Linked DNA regions of Homo sapiens: all the other regions are linked to region 1. Evidence: promoter capture Hi-C in 16 types of primary human blood cells and fetal thymus (Javierre and others, 2016). All regions are on one chromosome and are shown on one strand. The core of a region is centred on a gene start or on the middle of the fragment in contact, and the rest is flanking DNA. Distances in the headings are between cores, read along the strand shown.

What was found. The method cuts DNA at HindIII sites, captures the fragments that hold promoters and counts their contacts. A CHiCAGO score of 5 or more calls a contact.
Region 2: a contact is called between a fragment that was not itself captured here and the fragment with the promoter of RICTOR in region 1, in 1 of 17 cell types (neutrophils). The highest score is 5.6, in neutrophils.
Region 3: a fragment that was not itself captured here is called in contact with the fragment with the promoter of RICTOR in region 1 in 1 of 17 cell types (neutrophils); the score reaches 6.0 in neutrophils.

The regions. Positions count from the first base shown.
Region 1 is chr5:39,072,703-39,075,942 of GRCh38, forward strand. It overlaps RICTOR (RPTOR independent companion of MTOR complex 2), which reads right to left and starts at 1,697. Exons shown (of 38, transcript NM_152756.5): 1 at 1,627-1,697; 2 at 1,409-1,456. The coding sequence starts at 1,675. RefSeq lists enhancers at 530-1,056, 1,583-2,109 and a silencer at 995-1,894. The HindIII fragment of the contact is 5,742 bases long and covers 1-3,240 here.
Region 2 is chr5:40,846,716-40,849,955 of GRCh38, forward strand. The region is part of intron 2 of CARD6 (caspase recruitment domain family member 6); the gene reads left to right. Among named protein-coding and RNA genes, the nearest start is that of CARD6, 7.0 kb to the left of the region's middle. The HindIII fragment of the contact is 9,183 bases long and covers 1-3,240 here.
Region 3 is chr5:40,783,747-40,786,986 of GRCh38, forward strand. All of the region lies in intron 1 of PRKAA1 (protein kinase AMP-activated catalytic subunit alpha 1), which reads right to left. The region is part of intron 2 of LOC124900968 (a long non-coding RNA gene); the gene reads left to right. Among named protein-coding and RNA genes, the nearest start is that of PRKAA1, 13 kb to the right of the region's middle. RefSeq lists an enhancer at 638-782 and a cis regulatory region at 703-716. The HindIII fragment of the contact is 6,578 bases long and covers 1-3,240 here.

The DNA.
Region 1 (3,240 bases), core at 447-2,946:
AGCTTTACATCTTTCTATACTAATTCTCAAAACCGATCTGCTGAAAAAAATGGTGGAAATTAGTGCATTGATAATCTAATTAGTAGCCATTTTCAGGATTTAAGCTCTACTATATTGTATTATATTTTAGAAACTGTCTTGTAAAAGGACCTAGTTCACCCAAAACTAAGTCCCTGAACTTTCAGAATAAAATATTAAGTTATAAAAATGTACTCTTGTAGCTAAGTGAAAGCTGACCATTCAGTTTATAAAACAGTAATCTTACATCGTGATAAGCAAAATAAAACAAATTAGAAAATGCACTATGCTTTCACTCTAGCCGTTGTCAACAAGGAGCCCAGCTTTAACAAATTACTGTAGATAACAGTCATTACGTCAGGTACGACATAGGGTAAAAAACTGATCTCATACAGAATGTCTACAACAAGTTTTTTTGTTTACTTCCTAAGGTGTTTTATAGACCTCAGAAACTGATTCTGTACAGCTGAACCGGGTTACACTCCAAGCTACAGCCCGTGTGAAATATGACTTCGTCGGAATCAGTAGGCTCAATCCTGTTTACCGTGGAAGAGAAAAGAATCTTGTACGTAACTACTAAATCTTCAACGAGATAATGTCGAATAAACTCTAGTACTGTAAGTGATAGAGGAAACACTGGCTAGTAACGGGATTAGGTCATTAAAAATATCACCCGAGTTTCCCCAGTTCGGAAGGTGTAAACAAACCCATCTCCACTGCAGAAGGTAAACAATGAACCTGCAGCAGGGTGAGGGGGCGGTCTTTAGCCAACTACAGTCCCAGCGGCCCGGGAAAGGGAAGCAGAAGGGAAACAGCATAAACCAGACATTTAGCAGTAATGACCAGTTCTAGGTTTCACTACCAAGTTATCAATGCTGCGGGTCCCCACAGGACGGTGGGCAAAGGGGAAAGCAGTCACGCAGTCGGCAAGCACCGAGCAGGTCCGGCTTCTGCTCCGGGGACGGGGAGGGCAGGATGTGGTCGCTCTTCCCTCAAACATCCTCCTGCAACCTAAATAACAGCCTCTACCTCCCTCCAGCTGCCCCTAGCTTGGGCTGCCGGACTCCGGGATAGGTGCAAACCACTCTGCCGGAGCTCGAGCCCAGAGGGTCGCCGGGTCTGCCGAGTTCCACTCGGGGCTCCCCCGCACCCGCAGCAGCCCGAGGCCCGGAGAAGGGCTCGGGCGAGGGAAGCGGGCGCTGGGTAGGGGGATGGGTCCGGCGAGGCGGCCCCGGGCTCGGTTCCCGCGGGCCGGCAGGCGGGGCTCCGGCTCTGGCCCCCGCACCCCGCCGGTCCCGTGCGGGGCCCGCCCCTGCCTCTGGCCCCCAGCCCCGGACCCGGCTCCTCCCCAGCAGCGCGCCCTCGCGGCGCCCGCGGCGCCCCGCGTTACCTCGGGTCAGATCCAGCGGGACGTTCTCCTCGCCGCTGTCATTCCGCCCTGCGCGAAACAGACACACAGCCCCAATTAGGATTGGCTCGCAGGCCAGCTGCGGCTGCCCTGGCTCCGGCCAGCGCCCCGGCTCGCTCCCCAACCCAGGGCCAGGGGAAGGCAAGTGCCAGGGGTGGCGGGCGCCGGGCGGTGGGGAGTGAGGGTTGCAGCGGGCTTACCTCGTACTCGGAGGTTCTTCAGAGAGCGGCCGCGGCCGATCGCCGCCATATTGACGGGTTTCAGTCACAACACCGGAAACCTCGCCCAATCGCGCGAGAACCCCTTCCCCTCCCCGCGCGCCGCGCCCGCCCCCCGCGGCACCTCCCCCGCCCCCTCGGCGGCGACGGCGGCGGGTGGTGCAGGCTCGGCCCCAGCGCTGAGGGAGCACTGAGCCGACCCAAGGTCTGCAAGGAGTTCGCGGCACCCGCCCGCCCACGCCGGACCCGGAGGGCACGTCCGCCGGGAGGGGCAGTTCCCACGAGGAAAGTCCCATTGATGCGAGTTGGCAGTGTAGAGGATGCTCCCCTCCGGCCGCCGCGGAAGCCGTCGTCCAAATGCAGGCGAGCGGGGAGGAGGAGGCCGGGATGCGGCCGGCGGGCCACCTGCTCTCGCCGGCCTGCCAGTCTCCTGCTTGCTCTGAAGCCCTGCCATAGACGGCCCCGCTCCCCCGTGTATCCACTGAAACATTTTTTTATAAAAACGCTGCGCACAGTTTTAGACTCCTTTCCTGGAATCGCTTTGCTCCAACTAAGTTAACACGTAACAAAGTTTGTTTTCCAGCCTCGCCCTTGATCTTCAGAATGCCCCTCTCGGCTAGGAGGGCTTCTCCAAGTGGAAGTGGTTAGGCAGTTTTGTTTTTGGCCGCCAGGCGTAGGACGCGAGAAGGGGGTGCAGCGGCCGGGGACCAGGGCGGCGGTCCCCGCGGTGGGATCGCGCCAGCGCCGGGAGGCCGGGGAGAGGGTGTTCTCTGCCGGGAGCCGAGGCGAGGCTGCTGGGTACTGTGTCCGGCTTTTATGGCTCTGCAGCTCCTAGGATCGTGGCTCATGCAGGTGTTGTGGATTAATCTATTTTATGCATAAGCCTATTAACATTAGGGATTTTAATTCTAGAAACTGCTTAGTTAATACGTATGTGTACACACACACACACACACACACACACACACACACACACACACACACACACACACACACACACACACACCTGGCCACTGACCCAGCAGCTTTCTCTTGAACTACATTTACTTTAAAGAGAGGAGCGATTTGTCCTCTCCAGTTCCTCAGCTCATCTTTCTATTCCATGAGACTGAAAGTTAATTAAAAGTGGAGATCTAGCCTTAACCAGTTCTGTTTTCCCAGCTCCCAGTTAATGCAATATCTGGCACAAATAAGTATTCAATAAATATCTGTTGGATGAGTAAGTGCCCTGGATTTCTAATTTATTCCAATTCTCTGCTTACTTTAAAAAAGAAAAAAAAAGCAATATTGGGGATATTTGTTGAAGTTGTTAATAAGAGTGAACATTTGGAAACACTTAAATGACCAAAGGTAGGGATTATGTAAATTATGTCAACGATTAAAAGTGAAGAGGTAGACTTAGTAATAGGAAATAATGTTCATGATATTAAATCAAGCAAAATATTACAAATTTCCTGTTTTATAATAAAAGTTTAAATATGTACGAAATTAAAAATATACATTATAAAATATTTTATATGTACATGTATGTTGAAAAAAGTCTGAAAATATACATGAAAATGTTAGCTGATTTTCTCCCCTCATTTGTGGAATTAC
Region 2 (3,240 bases), core at 387-2,886, 1.8 Mb after region 1:
ATTTTTCTTTTTTATTAAGACACCAATTATACTGATTTAGGCCCCCCTCCATGACCTTATTTTAACTTAATTACCTCTGTAAAGATAAAGATGCTATTTACAAAATAAAGCCACATTCTGCATTACTGGGGGACTTCATATCTTTTTGAGGGGGACAAAATTCAACCCATAACACCATTACTTCTGCCACATTCTGTTGACCAAAGCAAGTCTCAAAGCCAGGTTTAGGGTTGGGGGAAAACAAGTTCTACTTCTTGCAAAATAAGATAGCAAAGACTATGGATACCAGAAAGCCATTAACTGGGGACATTATTACAATCAGTCTAACATCTTTAGTAAAACAGATCAAGAGAAGTCTTAATAATAATGTAGTTATGATCTGCAATGTAATTCTAATGGCTGCCCATCCACTCTAGTTGACTGGAGGCACGTGGCTATTCTTTGTTTCTTTCCCAAGTAATATTTGTCTGTGCAGCTGAGAAATGAAAAAAATAGTTCTAAATCAAAGGAAGGTCTTCATGCTCTTTGTCATGTGAAATTTTATGTAAAAAATATCACAGTGTCACAGTCTCAGAAAGGCTTAAACTATTGCCTTGTGTGCTCTGCACTATAGAAGTTCAACTTGTATAGACAGTATCAATTGACTCTCTTCCCCCTCCAGCTTGTTGTTGGGTTCAACCATTGGGTGGAACCAATATGTTTACCTTTCCCTGTGGCCTTTCTTTTTTCCTGAAGATCCAGGTTTTCATTTTATATTATTTTCCTTTAGCCTGAAAAATTTATTTATTTTTTCTCTTAGTACAAGTCTGCTGGTGGTAAATTCTCTTAGTTTTTGTTTATTGAAAGATATTTTTATTTTGCCTTCATTCCAGAAGGTTGCTTTTGCTGGATATAGGATTCTACAACTTTTGCCTTTAACATGTTATGGATGCCATTCCTCTGTCTTTTAGCTTCCATTGTTTCTGATGCTAAATCTTCAGTCATTTTATCATTGATCCTCTGTAAGTGCTGTGTCATTTATCTCTGGTTGTTTTCAAGATTTTTTCTTAATTTTTTTTGAGCAGTTGACTCTGATGTGTCTGGGGTGATTTTTTTTTTCTCTTAGTGTTTGCAGAGTTTCCTGAATCTATACAAAAACTTTTAATCAAATTTGGAAACTTTTCAGCTGTTATTTACCGAGATTTTTTTCTTTCTCACTTCTTCTCTTCTCTCTTTCTGAGACTTCGAGTACATGAATTTTAGAGTTTTAAAAATATTGTTCTACAGGTTCCAGAGACTTTGCTCAGTTTTCTTTAATATTTTTTCTCTCTGTTCTTCAGGTTAGATATTTACTTTCTTCTGTCATCTCCAATTTGTTGTTAGCCCATCTAGTGATTTTAAACAAATTCATATATTGTGATTTTTAATTCCAGAATTTCCTGTTTAAAAATACTTTATATTTTTTTCTGAGAATTCCTATTTAATCATTCATTGTGGACTTACTTAATTTTAATTGTTTTTTTTTTTTTTTTTGAGACAGAGTCTTACTCTGTTGCTCAGGCTAGAGTGCAGTGGCACAATCTTGGCTCACTGCAGCCTCAGTCTCCTAGGCTGAGGCTCAAGCCATCCTCCCACCTCGGCCTCTCAAGTAGCTAGGGCTACAGGCACAGACCGCCAGGCCTGGTTAATTTTGTATTTTTTGTAGAGACAGGGTTTTCACGATGTTGCCCAGGCTGGTTTTGAACTCCTGGGCTCAAGTGATCCTCCTGCCTCAGCCTCCCACTGTTTTGGAATTACAGGCATGAGCCACCATGCCTGACTGTAAAATTCTTATATGCTAAATCTAACATCTAGGTCATTTTGGATTCAGTGTCCATTGAGTATGAGTTACATTTCTTGTTTCTTCCTATGTCTATTAGCTTTGGATTGTGTTCTATCCATTGTATATAATAGGTCATAGAGACTCTAGATTGTTATATTTCTCCCAAGAGTCTGAATATTATTTTAGTCTGTTTTTGTCTCCAGTTAACCTAACTGTATTTAAATTCAAAATTTAGACTCCTTTTCCATGGGTGGCAGCTGAAATCTCTGTTTATTTCTTTTTGCCTTAGCTGAGTTATTTTTATGAATTTTTAATTTATAAAATTGAGATTAGTTTCCTGATATTATTGCTTACTTTTTTCACCTAGCTCTGTGCTTAATTAGATACATCTCTGTTTTGTGTGTACATCTACTCTGTTGCTTTGATCTGCTCCATAGTGACACTGTTATTACCTTGTCGACACACCTGGCTTGGATCCTGTGGGTATTGATGTCTTTCTTTTTTTTTGAGATGACAGGCTGGAGTGCAGGGCCACAATCTTGGCTCACTGCAACCCTGCAACCTCCACCTCCTGGGTTCAAGTGATTCTCCTGCCTCAGCCTCCTGAGTAGCTGGGACTACAGGCACCTGCCACCACACCTGGCTAATTTTTGTATTTTTAGTAGAGACGGGGTGTCATTATGTTGGCCAGGCTGGTCTCGAACTCCTGACCTCAGGTGATCTGCCGACCTCATCCTCCCAAAGTGCTGGGATTATAGGTGCGAGCCACTGCACCCAGCCATGGGTACGAATTTCTGGCTGAAGAAGTAGAGAATTGCTTTCCTAAGGCAAAGTATGAGACAGGAAAAAGCAGAACTTAAAAGCTGTCCTGCAACCTATTCTCTCACTGCTTCCTCTGTGAACTCTTTCTTCATGCTAGATTCAACTTCCCCCTCACCTTTTTGCCCCAACACATATATCAGTTCAAGCAACTTTGAGACTACTCAAGGGCTTCTTATAGTTACTTTTATTAATTCCTAAAATCTATGCTTTTCTCTTATTTCTGTTGTTTCTTCAAAGCTATTTTTAAGGGTAATTTTACATTTTTACACTAGCTGGCCGTCTGTCAGGAGTAGAAAATCTAGGCTGATCTTCTCTCTCTGTTATGTACTATCTCTGTATTTATAAGATGTAGGTAGGCCAGCCAGGGTGGCTCATGCCTACAATCCCAACACTTTGGGAGGCTGAGGCAGGCAGATTAATTGAGCCCAGGAGTTGAGACCAGCCTGGGCAAAATGGTGAGACCCTGTCTCTACAAAATGAAGAAATGAAAAGTTAGGTGGGGTTGATGGTGTGCACTTGTGGTCCCAGCTACTCCAAAGGCTGAGGCAGGAGGATCACCTGAACCCAGGAAGTTGAGACTGCAGTGAGCTGAGATTGCACCACTGCACTCCAGCCTA
Region 3 (3,240 bases), core at 247-2,746, 1.7 Mb after region 1:
AGACTCCATCTCAAAAAAAAAAATTTCCAAAGGGGAAAAAAACAATTGGAAGTAGTATTAGCAGATTCACCTTTTTTGGAAGTAGAGTTGAATAGGGTTGAACCCCTAATTCCAATTGCACATGTGAAAGCAGTATGTATACAAAGCATAGATTTTATAGTCGCACAGACCTCGGTTTTATTCCTGTTTGAAGGTACTTACTAGATGTTTGACTTGGGCAAGTTAAAGAAACTACAACCTTCTATTTACTCATCTTTAAAATAAGAATACCACATACTCCATAAGGGTGACTATAACAGATACATGGAATAGTGTTTGTAAAGCACTTTCCACAATGCCTGGCATATAGCAAGTGATTGATAAATAAATGGTAGCCTTTATTATTTAGGGTTATTTATTTTCCACTGCTCCCAGACCTGTTCCCCCATCTGTATCTAATCAGCCCTGAATTATTTGTTTTAATCTCTGAATAGCCAGTTTTATCTCAGCTCTGATTGGTGATACCTATCCATGTAGATGCAATAGCATTCCTTTATCCAGGTACATAAGTGCTAAATAAATAATAGCTGTCATTTTAATGTATCTAGCTCCCATTCCCATATACTTCAATCCCTCCAACCCGCTCCACCACTCCTACCCCACCACCACTACCACCAATCCTCAGATTTCTACCTTCCAAAGTTCAACTCATTTCCTGACTTTGGTTAATGTTCAACAGATTACTATCAGACATATATACACATAACACCAATCCTTGACAGTGATTTCACCTACTACAGGAACACTTGTTTGGTCACAGAAGAACACAGAGGAAAAAAGCAGCTTAATTTGATGTGAGTTTTAATAAACAAGGGCTCTTTTTTTAACAAAAACAATTTTTTACAACATAAATCTAGTTCCTTTACAATACATAATTAAAGTATACAACTTACTAGTTAATATTTGCAGCATACTCACTTTGTACCCAAACATACTGACACACTCTCACCAACCTGGAAGACTTGGCATTATTAGCAACATTTTACAGGAAACTGAGGCACAGAAAGATGAAATAACTTGCCCAAAGTTACACAGCTAATGAGTGGAAAAGCCAAAACTTCAACCCAGGTCAGACTCTTAAAGTTATGCTTTTTCCGAACATGGTTAAGTGAAATTTGATTTTTTTAAAAAGATAATCCTCAGAAGACATGTAAAAATACACATCCTTTTAATAAAACATAAATGGAAGTTAAACATATCAGAGAAATTCTTAATGTATATACAGTTTTGAAAAGAATAGACTGAATTCCTTGTAGTAATAAGAATTATCCAGAAATGCATTCAATCATACAAATTCATTCATTCAAGAAATATTTGAGTACCAGCACCTACTATGTGCCAGGCACTGCTACTATGACCTCCTTCCTGTATCAGAACATGAATCCAGTGTACTGAAAACCTGCCTCATATCAATTTCAATGTCTTAGGATTCCACAGACATTTTATTTTATTTTATTTATTTTTTATTTTTGAGACGGAGTTTTGCTCTTGTTGCCCAGGCTGGAGTGCAATGGCATGATCTCAGCTCACTGCAACCTCCGCCTCCTGGGTTCAAGCGATTCTCCTACCTCAGCCTCCCAAGTAGCTGGGATTACAGGCACCTACCACCTCGCCCGGCTAATTTTTGTATGTTTAGTAGAGATGGGGTTTCACCATGTTGGTCAGGCTGGTCTTGAACTCCTGACCGCAGGTGATCCGCCCCCCCTCGGCCTCCCAAAGTGCTGGGATTACAGGCATTAACCAACCACGCCCAGCCCACAGACATTTTACTAATACATTCTATCAAACCAATTTAAAAGTTACTCAAAAACTAAGAAAGAAAGCATAAAACTAAAAGTATACAAAATATAAAAACAAGTGTAGTGAAGTGAATAACGTCCCCACAAAATCTATGTCAACCCAGAATCTCTGATTGTTATCTTATTTGGAAATAGGATCTTTTCAGACGTGACTAGTGAAGGATTTGAAGATGAAATCTTACTGGATTTAGGGTGAGCCCTATATCTAATGCCTGGTATCCTTACAAGAAGAGGAGAGCACACACACACACACACAGAGAGAGAGAGAGAGAGAGAGAGAGAGAGAGAGAGAGAGCAAGCGAGCGCAGCCATTTGAAGACAGAGGCAGAGACTGGAGTTATGCTATCACAAACCAAGGAACATCAGGAGCCACAAGAAGGTGAAAGAGGGCTGGGCACGGTGGCTCACGCCTGTAATCCCAGCACTTTGGGAGGCCGAGGCGGGGAGATCACCTGAGGTCAGGAGTTCGAGACCAGCCTGGCCAACATGGCGAAACTCCATCTCTACTAAAAATAGAAAAATTAGCCAGGAGTGGTGGAACACACCTATAGTCCCAGCTACTTGAGAGACTGAGGCAGGAGAATCACTTGAACCCAGGAGGCGGAGGTTGCAGTGAGCTGAGATCATGCCACTGCACTCTATTCTGGGTGACAGAGTGAGACTCCGTCTCAAAAAAAAAAAAAAAAGCAGCAGCAGCTGGAAGAGGCAAGGAACAGATTCTCCACTAGAGCCTTCAGAAGAAACATGGCCCTGATGGCCCTTTGATTTCAAATTTCTCACCTCCAGTACTGGCAAAGAATAATTTTCTGTTGCTGTAAGTCATTGAGTCTGTGGCATTGTTACGGCAGCCCTAGAAATGGATATAGTTAGTTTATCAGTTGAAAAGTGGATTTTCTAAAGAAGTACCAAACAGTAATCATAGAGCTGAGGAATAGTATAACTGAACTGAAAAATTCAATAAAGGGGTTCAACCACAGGCTACATCAAGCAGAAGAAAAGATTAGTAATTAGAAGACAGGCCACTGGAAATCATACAATCTGAAGAAGAAAAAAGGATAAAGAATGAAAAACAGTGGTCAGGCATGGTGGCTCACGCCTGTAATCCCAGCACCTTGGGAGGCCGAGGCAGGCAGAGCACTTGAGGTTAGGAGTTCAAAACTGGCCTGGCCAACATGGTGAAACCCTGTCTCTACTAAAAATACAAAAAAAAAAAAAAAAAAAAAAAAAAGCTGCCAGTGGTGGTGCACGCCTGTAATCCTAGCTACTTGGGAGGCTGAGTGGAAGGATCACTTGAACAGAGCAGGCAGAGGTTGCAGTGAGCCAAGATCTCACCACTGCACTCTGGCCTAGGCAACAAAGTGAGACTTTGTCTCAAACAAACAAAAAGAAACAGAAAAAGAAA